3 separate regions of the Homo sapiens genome follow, and all the other regions are linked to region 1. The links are contacts of gene promoters, found by promoter capture Hi-C in blood cells and fetal thymus (Javierre and others, 2016). All regions are on one chromosome and are shown on one strand. Each heading gives the region's core, a stretch centred on a gene start or on the middle of the fragment in contact. The rest is flanking DNA. Distances are from core to core; before and after follow the strand shown.

Region 1 (4,907 bases), core at 1,260-3,759:
TGATCGGTGGGAAAAGATGAATTATTCAATATGTAGCATTGGGGGAAATAGCATTAGATCCACATCTCTCCACCATATGACCAGATAAATCGGTCCAGATTAAAAAAAAAACAGCCCAGATAAATCAAATATTTTAACATAAAAAGTGAAATAATTTATAGTACTAGAGTACAGCATGGCAGATTTTTTCTTTATCATCTCAGAGTGGAATATTCTTTTAAGCATAACAAAAATTCAGAAGAAACAAGAAATAGAAATCAAATTCAACTACATAAAAAAAATTAAGCTATTTCATACCATAAAACCAACAGGCAGATGACAAAGTGCAATTTATATCACTGATTTTCTAAATAGCCTTCGGTTCTGTAAGAAAAAGTTTAAAACTGCAGTAGAAAAATGTGCAAAAGATATGGACAAATAGTTCACAGGGAAAAAATGAACATTCAACATAAGAAGAGCTTCTCAATATCACTCATATAAGAAAAATGCAAATTAAGATAATAACTAGATACCATTTTGTTACCTATTGGACTTGCAAATTCATGATGTTTCAGAATAAACTAACAAAAAAATGGCTTTTTTTTGTTCTTTTGTCCAGCTTAGAAGAAAGGTGTCTAAATTGGGAGCAAAGGTGGCAATGACGTGGACTTGACACCAAAAAAAAATTTTTTTAAAGAAAAGAAACAAGTGCCTCTGCATTTCAGGGGTTTAGGATTGGCATTTTTAAAATGTCAACAAATAAATGTTCATATCCACACTTGACATTTTTTCCAAGGAGAATTTTAATTGTATAATTGCTGGTAAATTCATGCAGCCAACATGGAGGGCACACGGACAAGATCTATGAGCATTACAAGTGCACTTACCTTTGACCCAGCAATTCTATCTCTAGGAATCTATCCTAAAGATGCTCCAGAACATCTAGAGACAACATATGCTGAAGGTTAGTCATTGCAGTCCTCCTTGTGATGACGAATGCCTGGGAACAGCCTGAATAGCACCAACTGAGGGATGGTGAAATACATTTTGGAACCTCCATGCAGTGGAGTACTACACAGTCATAAAAAGCAATGAGTTTTTTATGGTACTGAATGTTAATAAGTGAAAAAATAAGCTAATGGTGACATGCTCTGCAATGCCACTTGTAAAGAAGGGGGAAGTTATATGTTATTTGCTTGTACTTTTTTTATGTATAGAACATCTCTGGAAGAATGAATAAGAAATTAGTATCTGCAATTGCCTCTGGGGAAGAAACCTGGGGGAAGAAGATATATTTTTTACTGTTTGCCCTTTTGTACACTTAGTACCGTGTATACTTATTTTTGAAAAGCAAGAGTGTACCAGTTGGTACTTTTCTGGTCTCCCTGGTGAGGTGCCCCTGGGTAAAGCCGTTGTATGCCCTTGTAAGACCAGAAGATTAAGATCTCAATTGCTGTTCAATTCAAAACTGTTTTCTCTGCTTGGAGAGCTGGTGGAGAAAATGAAACAATGAAAACCAGAGCTGTAGAGTGCAATCCTGTGAGACATTTCCCAGTGGGGCCTTACTGGCTCAAACCCCCATTTCTTGCTCTAATGTGAACACAGATGTATTTAAAAACACATCATAGGATCAATCTTGCAGCCTGCTGTGCAGAACAAAGGTGCTCCAAAATGCTTCCCATTTGATCGTTGTTTGTTGCTAATTCATTTTGCGAACGCAAGACTCAGAGAGGCCAGTATTTTTTATTATAGTTAGTTGCCAGAATGTGTGAATGAGCTTATTACTTTTAGATGAAGGAAGAAACTATTTAAAAATTACTTTTCAAACTACATGTGACAAAGCCCAGGACAAATGAACAGATTTAATTACATAAAATTAGTCACTCGCAAGAAACAACACCACAAGCATAAATTTACACCATTGTTTGGTAGAATGGTTTGAGACATTAAAGTAAGGAAGGTGAAAAATTCCCGTAATTATTGCAACAAACAAACAGACAGCAAATCAACCCAACAAGAACACAATATCCTTATATTAGGGCAAGAGAACTTATTGAAACTCAGAACACATGTATAAACTCATAGAACTTTCTAGAAATTGTCATAGAATGATGCAACACATTCAAATACAAATAAAATATCCCCAACTAAGAGCTACACACAGAACATTAAATTATTTAAAAACCAGTCCATTTTCTACACGAAAGAAACTCACTATATTAATTACTGCAATACATTACATTTTACCTTTCTTACAAAGGTAAAAGTAAGTTAGGTTGTATCTTAATGGACAAACATATCCTGTAGAAGAGAGAAACTTTTTCCTCTGTGCTATTTTGTACTTGTAATTTAATGACGTGAAATATGTAAAATCTCAACCTGCCCATCCTTGCATTGTAGCTGAGTACTCACATTCCATGGGGTGGTCTTGTCCTTGACTCTTGGAGGGGCAAGTTCAAGCGGCTACCATGCACAGAAGGGGAAGATGATGAAAGGAGAACTCCGTCTCCTAGGGAAGAATCAGTCCTACTGCAGTTGAGCTGCACTGAGTTTCCAGAGTGGGGAGTAATATGATCTTCCAACAATCTTAGGGCAGCACCAAACAGAAACTTAGTAAGTGGATGACTTTGCTTTCATGCAATTAATCAGAGGATCCGATTTGCTGTGTCTTCTGTTGCATCAGAACAGAAAGCACTTCCCAGCTTTGACTTGTTAAGAAGTTCTCAATCAAAACAAATTTTTAAAACGTGCTGGTATTAAGGAATCTCCATCTCTCAGGTCCCATCATGAACTGAGGTGGCCAGAAGCTCCCCCTGAGGCTGGCTCTCCGCTTAGAGCTTGGATGGCTATTGAATTCCCCTGTGTTCTGCACCTGTTGCAGGTGTGGCAGATGGCCAGGTGTGGCAGAGATCTGTCATCATAGGGCCAGGAAACTCCATGGTCAAGAGTCACCAGCTTCCTCTGGACAGTCTCCCAGATGAGGAAACCCAGACAGGAAGGGAGTGACACCCCAAGGGTGACACACCTGAGGGGACTTGGGCTTTCCCTGAGGGGTCAGTGGGCAGTGGACTCCTGTGCCAGGTGGTGAGAAATGGCTCTTCTCTTTCCCAGAGTCACAGACCCCATTGGAGTTGAGGTAGGCTTAATTGGAAAGTGTTAGAGTAAGTGTCTGCGGGTAAAGTTTCCCCAGGAGCAGGGAGGGAAAAGTTGGAAGACTGGCAAGTTAAATCATCCAGCCATTGTTTCCAGTTCCATTTCTTCCTAATCCTCACTCTAGGACTCTAACTTGCCACGTTTGTGATGGTTGCTGGTTTTTAAGATACAATTTGATGAAATTTCCATCAATGGGGTACTGGGTAAGTAAGTTATAAAATAAGCCATATGATCCAGCAATTCTACTCCTGGGTATCTTCCCAGGAGAAATAAAAATGTAAGTTTACACAAAAACTTGAACACACATGTTCAAAGCAGCATTATCTGTAATAGCAAAAAATGGAAACAACCCAAATATCCAACAACTGACTAATGAATAAATAAAATGTGGTTTATCCATACAATGGAATGTTATTCAGCAATAAACAGGAATGAAGTACTGATATATGCCATAACACGGATGAAACTTGCAAACATTGTGCTAAATAAAAGAAGTCAGTCACAAAGGACTACATATTGTAGGATTTCATTTATATGAAATGCCAAGAATAGGCAAATCTACAAAGATAGAAAATAGATTAGTGGTTCACTAGCGGGAGGGATTGGGGGTGATAACTAAGGGTATATAGCATTTTTGGAGGGGTAATAAAACTTCTAAAATTGTGGTGCTCACTGTACACAATCTGTGAATATACAAAAAAATTGAATGCATACTTTAAATGGATGAATTTTATGGTATATGAATTATATTTCAATAAAACTGTTAAAAATTATAATATACAAGCTGGGTGCAGTGGCTCACACCTGTAATCCCAGCACTTTGGGAGGCCGAGGTGGGTGGATCCCCTGAGGTTGGGAGTTCGAGACCAGCCTGACCAACATGGAGAAACCCTGTCTCTACTAAAAGTACAAAAAATTAGCCGGGCATAGTGGAGCATGCCTGTAATCCCAGTTACTTGGGAGGCTGAGGCAGGAGAATTGCTTGAACCCAGGAGGCGGAGGTTGCAGTGAGCAGAGGTTGTGCCATTGCACTCCAGCCTGGGCAATAAGAGTGAAACTCCATCTCAAAAAAAAAATTATAATATACATATACAATGGAGTATTACACAGCTGTGAAAAAGAACGAGGAAGCTATTTATGTACTGATGTATAAAGCTCTCTAAGGTGTGCTGTTATGAAAAAGGTAAAGAAGAGAGCATGTTAACATGTATCCAAAAATTGAGAGGAAGCATATATATATATATCTGATTTTGCCACTGTAAGCATTTAAAACACCAGTGGAATATCCAAGAAATTAAGAAGAGGGGTTACCTATTGGAGGAGAGAACCAGGTAGATATATGGCAGGTGTGGGAGGGAGAGCTCTCACTAAATATTTTTATGCTTTAAATATTTTTAACCGTATGTGTATTACCTATTCAATAATAAATGCACCCATTTGTTAGATATCTTTGTTGAAGATTCATTTGGCTCCTGCTGTCTCTTGCTATGGGATGGACCATGGCATCCCCCCTCTGCCACACAGACAAGGGATTTGGACACTGCCAGTGGGACGTGGGAGGGGAGAGCACCTGACCCGTGATAATAAGGGGCTCGTGGCAGTGATAAGGGCTGGGAGTCAGGGCTCTGGCCCCAGCCACATCCTTGCTGCATGACCCTGGGCCAGCCCCCTCATCTTTGTGAGCCTCAGTTTCCTCATCTGTGAGGTGAAGGTGGTGAAGGAGGTGAAGGATGAGCAGGATCTTATGTCCTTGGTCCTGAGAAGGCAGGAGAGAA
Region 2 (4,907 bases), core at 722-3,221, 220 kb after region 1:
CCTGCCTGATACAGTCAGGTGCGTCATGAATTCCAAGGCTGACCCACCAAATCAGGGAGCTTGGGTCCCATGATCTAGGGCTTTTGCCAGCAAGTCAAGGCCTTAAATTCCTGGAGGCTGATCACCTGCCAAAAACCACTTCACAGATGAACGTGTCCTGAAAGGGGGCTTATATACCTTGGATATATGATCCGCCCTCCTGACAAGCCACAGCAGCACTTAAAAAGGCTTGTGAAGGGATGATGCCAGTGGAAGAAAACAGGAACTTTGACCTCCCAGAGCCTATGGATACCAAGAAGGGATCAGATGACTGATTTTTTCAAAAGCTTCCTGGTGGAATAAATGCATTTCACAGGTAAGCCCTGGAACAAAACAAGGCTCACTGAAACGAGTCCATTGTTGGCTTCAGTAAAGTCTAAAGGGAAGGTTGGGCCTTTTTAAAGAAATAGGGTCTACATCAGTTGTGAAAATTTTACAAGAAGCATGTGAAACATGCATGAAGTACAGTGTAGGAGGTATATGAATCAGCCAGAATGGAGTTTTAATAAAGACGCTGCAGATTCATTAAGAAGAGAATTCATTAGAAAAACCCTGAGTTGGCCGGGCGTGGTGGGTCATGCCCGTAATCCCAGCACCTTGGGAGGCCAAGGGGGGCAGATCATGAGGTCAAGAGATCGAGACCATCCTGGCCAACATGGTGAAACTTCGTCTCTACTAAAAATACAAAAATTAGTTGGGTGTGGTGGTGCACACCTGCAATCCCAGCTACCCGGGAGGCTGAGGCAAGAGAATCATTTGAACCCAGAAGGCAGAGGTTGCAGTGAGCCAAGATGGCGCCACTGCACTTCATCCTGATGACGGAGAGAGACTCTGTCTCAAAAAAAAAAAAGAAAAAAAAAACCCAGAGTTTACAAATAAAGGCCAGAAGGGATTAACGTTTGGAAATCTGAATTGCTAATCTCTTTAAAAAAAACATTTTTTCTTTCTTTATTATTATTATTATTTTAAGACAGAATCTCTCACTCTGTCACCCAGGCTGGAGTTCAGTGGTGTGGTCTTGACTCACTGCAAACTCCACCTCCTGGGTTCAAGTGATTCTCCTGCCTGTCTCCTGAGTAGCTGGGATTATAGGCGAGTGCCACCATGCCTCGCTAATTTTTGTATTTTTAGTAGAGACAAGGTTTCACCATTTTGGCCAGGCTGGTCTTGAACTCCTGACCTCAGGTGATCCACCTGTCTTGGCCTCCCAAAGTGCAGGGATTACAGGCGTGAGCCACTTCGCCCGGCTAAAAATAATATTATTTTTGAATTGGTAATCAGTGCACAGGAATCAAAAGTCAAAAACACTCTACAAAAGTATTCACAGAGTTGAATCATTCCCACCCTCACACTTTCCCCTACATAACCATTTAGATCAATTTCTTGTTTACTCTTTCAGTGTTTCTTTAAGTAAATATAAGCAGTTCTTTTTTTGTTATTTTCGCAGCATTGAGCCGCCAGCCAACTCTGGCCAGTGGTGCCCTGTAGCCTTTCTGGGAATGTGGGAAAGGAAAGAAGAGAAAGCCTTGAGCAACACTGGCTGGTCGCATGGTACCAGTAGTACTCCCCCACATGCTGTGACAACCAAAAATGTCTCCAGACATTGGCACATTGCCCCTGGTTGAGAATTGCTGGTGGAAAAAAATCACAGCCCCGCAGTTGGTCAGGCCCTTTTCAGACAACACCCCCCACTCCATTACTCTTTGATGTTGAGCCCAGCACAATTTTCAGGTCCTGGACTCCCAAGGTTGGAGCCTCCACTTTTCAGGAAGCGGTTGCATTCGATTTCAGGAAGCGGTTGCATTAGATTTGTAGAGAGTGGGGGCCAAGGCATCATCCAGGCCACCTTCATCCCCTGGGACTGCTACTGCATCCTCCTAACTCATCTCCTGCGTGTTCTACATGCACAGCGGTCCATACCACCCCACAGTGGGCAGCCCCTTGGGGTGCCTTAATGCTCTTCGGATAAAGCCCAGACTTTCTGATGGGGCTTGTGGGGCCCTTCAAAGTGCAGTCCTTGGCTGGGTGTGTAGCTCATGCCTATAATCCCAATACCTTGGGAGGCTGAGGTGGGAGGATCATTTGAGGCCAGGAGTTCGAGACCAGCGTGGGCAACACAGTGAGACCCCATTTCTACAAATAATAGAAAATAAAAAATTAGCCAAGAGTGGTGGCTTGTGCCTCTAGTCCCAGCTACTCGGGAGGCTAAGGCAGGAAGATTGCTTGAACCCAGGAGTGCAAGACTTTAGTGAGCCATGATTGCACCACTGTACCTCCAACCTGGTCAAGAGAGTGAGACCCTGTCTCTAAAAATGAAAGAAATTTAAAAGGTAAGAACCAAGGGAAGTCCTTGCCTGCCTCTCCAGGCCTCTCAGTTGCCTGCTGTCCCTGTTCACACTTGGCTCCATCCTCACTGAGACAACTTTTTTCCCTGGCATACTCCTTGCTCTGGGTTTTTCCCATGCCCTTTCCTTGCCTGGAATGCCATCTCCCACCTTTTTCCTGGCCAGCAAAACCTCTATTCATCCTTCAGGTGTACCTCAGAGCTGACCAACCCTCCCCACATCTACCTGGCCTGGCCCTGGGTCCCAGTTGGGCACTCCTCCTAAATACTCCTAGATATGCAGAACATTTACTTCCTCATGTTGTCATTGTTTGTCTAATTGTCTGAAGCCCCCCAGGAATGTGGCTGCACAAGGACATAGACTAGATGGCCTTGTGACCCCTGTGTCCCTGGCCCCAGCACAGTGGCTGGCAACCAGCAGGTCCCAGTGCATGACTGCTAAATGCATGCACACATGGCACAATGCTTGCAACCAGGCACATGCTTCCCCAGCCTTAGGAAGGGTTACGTTCATGGGGTTAGGTTCACAGACGCTGGAGCCAGGCTGTCTGGGTACACTCTGCACTGTGGGGCTCTACCACTTCCCGACGGTGTGCCCTTGGGCAAATTGCTTACCTTCTCTATCCCACATCTTTACATCGTTAGCATTTACGTCAAGGATTATATTAATCATATGAGCTAATGTATGTTATGTGTTTATAGTAGTGCCTGGCATATCGTCAGCACCATAAAAGAGTTTGCTGTTCTAGCTTCAAAACTCTTCATAGAACTTACACTCGGTAACAGGATAAGAATTTTGATTTCAGGAGGGATGGCAGGTGATGGGATGATGAAGGGAGGGAGACTGGGCAGATTGGAGGGAGACTGGGCAGATTGGGAGTTCCTCATGTGTAAGAGGAAACCAAGAGCCTGCAATTCTCAAGTATAACATTACGCCCTCAGAGAAGTGGGTGGGAAGATTCCAGAGACTTGCTCATTTTACAAACATTTATGGTAGATTGATTTGGGGTCCAAGAAAGGAGAATGAAACTCTCTTTTTTCCATCCTCTCCTTTCGGCCCTCTCTTCCCAGGACTCACATGAATGAACGTCTCTGGACACCTAATCACCATTTATCAATCTCACTTCTATGAGAAAAACACATTTCAAGTACCTACCCTCCAGCTTGTCAACAAATTCATTAAAAAAGAAGGGAACATCAGTTATATAAAGCCATGGTGTTTTTGCCTTACTATCAAGCTTTTGGATGAAATGGAAAAGTTAAATCCGCCCGGGAGGCATTTCTAACTCTCCACATTTAGCCACGGAATAGTTAGACTAATACCTGAATTCTCCATTTACATTTTCAGCTTGCATTCACAGATCTGGAGTCATAGAGAAATTACTGGTGTGGTGTCAAGTCTAAGTTTTAATGCCTTGAGGGGAAGCAACTTCACAATTCTGAACAAGGTTATCATGAGTGGAGGAGAAACATTCTCCTGGTTCTTGAGCCGGAGTTCATGAGCTCACACTTTGGCAGATCTCATCACTGATCATTTGAGCTCACACAGCTCCAAATACAATGGAAACCACTGGGTTATTTGTCAGCTGTTGAGTTCATTTGGTTGTTTAAACAATGCAATCATGCCAGTGGAGTGGGGGCAGGCAGACAGCAAACACTGGCTCCGTGCAAACCTGTGCTCCGTGCCCCGAACAAGGCAAGGGCAATGTTGGCCTGATGTAAGGGTTCTGCTGGGCACCTGCTGTCTCAGACACCTCGGTTGAACTCCTAGCTCTGCTGCTTTCCAGAGTTATTTGATGCTGCAGAACGTCAGTCTGCTTATCTGTAAAATGGGCATAGTGATTTTAATTACCTCACAGAGGCCTAAAAGGGAGGAGTGATATAATCCACAGGAAGAGCTCAGCATATTAAATAATCATGACCCACTAGCTATGACTGCTACTGTCTCTGGGGGTTCAAGAGCAGACAGTAGAATCATACCAGGGGAGAGACCTGACTAGTATGAGCCCCTTGTTGGGCTTTTGGACTTTGAAACAGGGTGAGGAATGAAGCAGAGAGAGGGATGATAAATTGCTTTGCACAATAAATGAAGAGGGATTTGGGGGTTGCAAGCGGGCAAGCTGAGAGAGGATTCGGGATGACATGGGCAGGGACCAGCCCCCAACCCGCTGCCCATCACTGGCCCCAAACCTTGAGTGAGCATCTCCCATAGCAAGGAGCTGTGGATCCTAGTTTTCCAGGATAGCCTCATGGTTTGCACCTGTGGCCCCAGAGTAATCACTTTCACTTTCAGAAGTGTTTGGGTTTGGCTATAAATTATGTCCTAACTATGTCCAACTGCCTTCTGGGAGGTGGTATGTTAGAAAAACCACAGAAAAGAGGCTGCATTCACCTGGGCTAAGACAAGGAGGAGCGAAGAGAGTAGCAGGTGGAGGTAGGGTTGAGATGGGGCAGATGCAGGTGGTTAGAGCAGAGGGAGCCAGGTGAGACTGAGAGAGAGCTAGAAGATGAGGAATACTCAGGT
Region 3 (4,907 bases), core at 820-3,319, 170 kb after region 1:
ACTGAATAAGGCACAGTCCAGGTGCTCAGAAATAACAATGACCAATGGGCCAGGTGCACAGCAGAGATCAGTGTTAGGAGTCAGACCTGCAGGTGTTGCATCGGAATCCCAAGCAGGCACTGGCCCCCATACAAACTCGCCAGGCCTCCGTGTCTTCACTGTAAAATGGAATCGTAACAAGCGCATACCTCACAGGGATCCTGGGTGGCAAACGAAATGGGGGACCAGGGTGGACAGGCAGCATGGGTAGTGGTTAAGAATGCTAACTCTGGAATAAGATGGCCTGGGTTCAAACCTTGCCCCCTCCTCCAACTTAGCTGTGCAACATGGGCAAGTTACTTCACCTCCAGATGCCTCAGTGACTCCATCCATAAAATGGGGACAGTCATAGTATCTGCTTCACAGGGTTTATGTGAGGATGAAATGCATTCACACTTCTAGGCAGTGCCATACTTACAGCAGCACCTGGCACTGGACAAACACTATGGAAAACAGTGCCTGACACAGAACAAATGCACTAAGAGCATTTCCTTACACACACACCTGGAAACCACTTGCTCTAGTAACTGGCACAGAGTGGGTGTGGCATAAATGGTGGGAGAAATTCATCATAGCCTCTTCCCATCTGGGGGTGTGCTGAGATGCTGGAAAAGAGGGTCATCAAAAAAGGAGGAAAAATCCCTTAGCTCTTAAGCCCTAAGAAAGTGCTTCACAGCTTTTCCTTGACCATGAAAAATACAGAAGCAACACCCGCAGAAAGAATAGAATCCTAGTAATTTTGTGTTCTGAATCAAGCTAAGTTTGACCTTTGAGCAAATTACTGGCTCTCTGCTAAGAGTGTACAGACCCATCTATTCATCATAGACTTCACTGTCTGGGAATGAGCCCCGGAGCCCAGGCTCTGCAGGTTGTTGCTGTTACGTAAGCCAGTGCAGGAGCCGTGCTGAGAAAAGGAAACTGCGCAATCTGCTCAGGTTCCCAGGAAGGCCAGGGTCCTTGTCCCACCTGAGGAGCTGACTTCTCAACTGGCAGCAGATTCAGGCATGCACACTGCCTTCGCCGGCCACTGGAAGGGCACTGCTCCCAACACCCACTCACACGCTGCCTGGATGGCTCTGATGGGGGCCACTGGGCAGGCCGGACAGGCTGCCTCAAGGAGCTGGGGACCTGTGGTGTCAGACAAGCTGACCACCCCCCGGCAGGGGTGGGACATACGTGTGAAAAGGGGAGTCTGGGGGTCCCCCACACAGTCCATCTACGCAGATGCAGGCCAAGCTCCCCAGATAAGCCTGCCTCAAGGATTCTGGCCGAGGAGCAGAGGGGGCCCTTCCTGGAGGTCACCTGCCCTTGAAGCAGGTAGAGAAGACATCTTAGTGTGGATCAGTGCTGACATCTGTGGAGAGTGGACTCTCGGCACTTTCTGTCTGTGGACTCACGTCCCCATCCCCGGAGCCCTGTGAGGTGGCTATTATGAGCCCCATCCTACAAGTGGGCAAACTGAAGCACCCATGTCCATGCTACCAGGGAGCAGCAGTGCCAGGAAGAAGCTCAAGTGCCCGGCCTTCTTAACCTCTAAGCTCCAACAGGTGACCTCCAGTATAAGCGGAGGCCTTCCTGCCCTCCAGAAAAAGCCGAGAGTCTCTGTAGCGTGGTTCCCTCCTGCTTCTTTTGAATGAACGACTGGGAGGGAAGGCTGAGGAGACCCACAGGGGCCCAGGGACTGATGCAGGGAACCCCCTCACTGGGGAAAGAGAGAAAGAGTTGGCTAAAGTAGAAAAAACTCGAAGTGCAAGCAGGGCTGTGGCTCCTGCATGACCGAGAAAGCCTCCTTGCCCACTGGAGCCTCAGCTGAGGGCCTTCTCGAAGGCTCTGCTTTCTATATTCTCTCCACTCCCTGACCACGGCAGGCTGGGTTCTCGTAAGGTTTAGAGCCGTCTCAGGGACAGGAGCAACCCCCGCTGCCATGCAGAAGATGCAGAAAGTCTTCTTTTAGAAGCACTGGAAAATACATTCGAACCGGGATGGGCATTTCCTGATGATGTTGGAACACCAACACAGTACCTCAGGGTGCTTTCCACCTCGACAAAGGGCCGAGGACTTTGCCTCCCTGCCTTTATCTTGCGAGAACCTTTGCACTGTGGAGTGAAGGAGCTCGGCTGAAAACTCAACAACTGCACAGCCCTTGGCTGGACCCACACTAGGGAAGGTGTCTGCGAGGCTCGGGCCTGCTCACTGTGCTGTGCGTTGGTCTGCACACACTGGGACTTCGGTGATAACTTACAGAAGGGAAATGGGAGGGGAGGAGTAAAGAAGGGGTTGGACAGTGACACCAGCTTGAGACAGAGAGTAAGAATCCTGGGCTCCCAGTCTCAGTTTCGTCATGAACTTGCTGTGTGATGTGGGCCCAATCTCAGCATCTCTGGGCACAATGAGTGGCCACCAGGGCCTTTCTAGCATTCATATCTTACCCTTCCATGAATGAGCGAGGAACCCGTGCAGCCCAGTTCTGCAGCTACCAGCCACATGGGGCTATGTCAATGAAAATTAGCAAAAGTAAACACTCCTCGGTAGTACTAGCTACATTTTAAGTGCTCAATAACATGACAATTTAAATGAAAATTAATTAAAATGAAAAAAATTAAAAGTTCAGTTCCTCAGTCATGTCCACCACATTTCAAGCACTCAGTGGCCACAAGTGGCCAGTGGTTACTGCAGTGGACAGTGCGGATACAGGACACTCCCACCACCCTAGGGAGTCCTCCACAGGGCAGCATCGAGAGTGTGCAGATGGAGATGTGGCTCACAGAACGTTCGGGAAGCTGCTTCTTTAAAGAAGAATTGTGTGTCAGCTTGGAGCCTATGTAAAAGTAATGAAAGAAAGCTAGATGTGTCTGTTGGGGTAACTAGGTCTGTAACAGGGAAAGTCATCAAGATACCTGAAGGTGAGATAAAATACCATATTGCCACACCCAAGCTATGGTCAGTGGTGAAAGACTAGCGTGTTTCCATAAGATGAGAATACCCATCTGCTGCCTCTATAATGTTGAAATACAATTTGAAGTATTATAAACAAGATGGAAAAATCATCATTATTTGCAGGTGATACGATTTTATACCTAGAAAATGCAAAAGAATCAACTATTAGAAATAGTCAAAGGCTTTAGCACAGGTGGTTGGTTACAAAATTAATACACAGAAACAATAATCTTCTCTATATAGAGGTAAAAATAAGTGTAATTTAAAAATCCCATTTTTAAATAATTTCTTAAATTTACATAAAAATGTTCATATTGAAGAATCTAAAACATAAATACAAATTAAAGAAATAGATAGGGTCTATATAAAGAAAACTTCCACCCTGTACTGAGTAGAGAAAAGATGGCTTACATAAGTAGAATAACACCACAGGAACCTAGGATGTAAAGACGTCAACTCTCCCTAAGTAACTATAAACCCAAAGCAATCTCACTCAAAATATTAACAGGTTTGGATGTTCCATTTTCGTTTTCATTCTTGTAAGGGAGTAGAGGACAGTTTGAAAGTAACAGTATACTTCTAGAGTTCCCAAAGAAGAAGCAGCAAATGATACTAGCCAGGAAAACAAATACTGGAAAAAAAGAATAGGACAATTCACTGTATTAATTGTTAAATCACGCTAAAATGTAAGATCACAGTCATGAAAACAGTAGTATGAAACTGGCTTAGAAATGAACAAAAAGATCAAGAGAAGAATCCTGATAGAAGAGCATATTTGATCATTTAGGTGGTATTTCAAATCTTCAAAGAAAGAGCACTGCTTAGCAAACAACATTGGAACATCCCACAGGTAACATGCAAACGAGAAAACCAGAAATCTAACTCACTCCTCATACCAGAATGTCCAGTGAATTAAAAGCAAACATCAACAACAAAAATGTACAAGTTCTAGAAGAAAACCTACTCCTATACATCTTGGCCTAGGTATGAAACAACCTCAGGAGAAAGGAAGGCAAAATTTCTGCATCTGAACTACAAATAAAAATAATACAAAATTCTATGGAGTAAAAACACCATAAAATCAAATGGCAAACTGGAGAAAATATCTGTAATATGTGCAGTAAGGTACTAATTTCCTTAATAAGCAAATAACTTACATATTCCTAAGTACAGACGATAAACTCACCAGAAAAGTAGCGCAAGATATACACAATCAGTTTATAGAGGAAAAAAAGCAACAACTGACTAATAAGCATATGGAAGGGTCAGCTTTGTTCCTAATTAAGGAAAAGCAAATTCAAACAAGATGATACTATTTTACGTCTATCAGAGATCCTGGCAATGATTCAAAATGATTTCTAATCCCCAGTACTGGTGAGAATGTGGGCAGAGAGGAACTCATGCGATGCTGGGGGTAATACATCAGTATAAACAGTTTGCAGAGCAAACTGACAGTATCTATTAAAACGTAAAGTAACCATACCTCCTGGCTCAGAAATTCCACTTCTAGCAATGTATCTTACAAATACATTTACATAAGGAAACAAAGAATGCTATTTGCAACATTATTTATAATAGGGAAAAAAACCTGGCAACAACCTAAATGACAATCAATAGGAATAGCTGGTTGAGTTGTGTTATGTTCTAATCATGAATCATCAGGGAGTCATCAAAAGAAGTGCATTAAATTAGCTGGGTGTGGTGGCAGGTGGCTGTAATCCCAGTTGCTCAGGAGGCTGAGGCAGGAGAATCATTTGAACCCGGGAGGTGGAGGTTGCAGTGAGCCGAGATCACGCCACTGCACTCCAGCCTGGGCGACAGAGTGAGACTGTTTCAGAAAAAAGAAATACATTGAGTCTACTGACAAGATATCCACAACATGTTAAAAAGCCAAGTAGCAAAATATAGTATGCAATCTAATACTACGTAAT

Evidence for each region. The method cuts DNA at HindIII sites, captures the fragments that hold promoters and counts their contacts. A CHiCAGO score of 5 or more calls a contact.
Region 2: a contact is called between a fragment that was not itself captured here and the fragment with the promoter of SMIM34 in region 1, in 4 of 17 cell types (M0 macrophages, naive B cells, M2 macrophages and 1 more). The highest score is 7.3, in M0 macrophages.
Region 3: a contact is called between a fragment that was not itself captured here and the fragment with the promoter of SMIM34 in region 1, in 5 of 17 cell types (M2 macrophages, endothelial precursors, M0 macrophages and 2 more). The highest score is 7.7, in M2 macrophages.

The regions. Positions count from the first base shown.
Region 1 is chr21:34,421,442-34,426,348 of GRCh38, forward strand. It overlaps SMIM34 (small integral membrane protein 34), which reads right to left and starts at 2,510. Exons shown (of 2, transcript NM_001367348.2): 1 at 2,392-2,510. The coding sequence starts at 2,398. It overlaps LOC105372793 (salivary glue protein Sgs-3), which reads left to right. Exons shown (of 6, transcript XR_001755015.2): 6 at 599-4,577. The HindIII fragment of the contact is 10,576 bases long and covers 1-4,907 here.
Region 2 is chr21:34,644,897-34,649,803 of GRCh38, forward strand. No RefSeq gene overlaps it. Among named protein-coding and RNA genes, the nearest start is that of CLIC6, 22 kb to the right of the region's middle. The HindIII fragment of the contact is 3,295 bases long and covers 325-3,619 here.
Region 3 is chr21:34,594,661-34,599,567 of GRCh38, forward strand. All of the region lies in intron 1 of RCAN1 (regulator of calcineurin 1), which reads right to left. Among named protein-coding and RNA genes, the nearest start is that of RCAN1, 18 kb to the right of the region's middle. The HindIII fragment of the contact is 8,670 bases long and covers 1-4,907 here.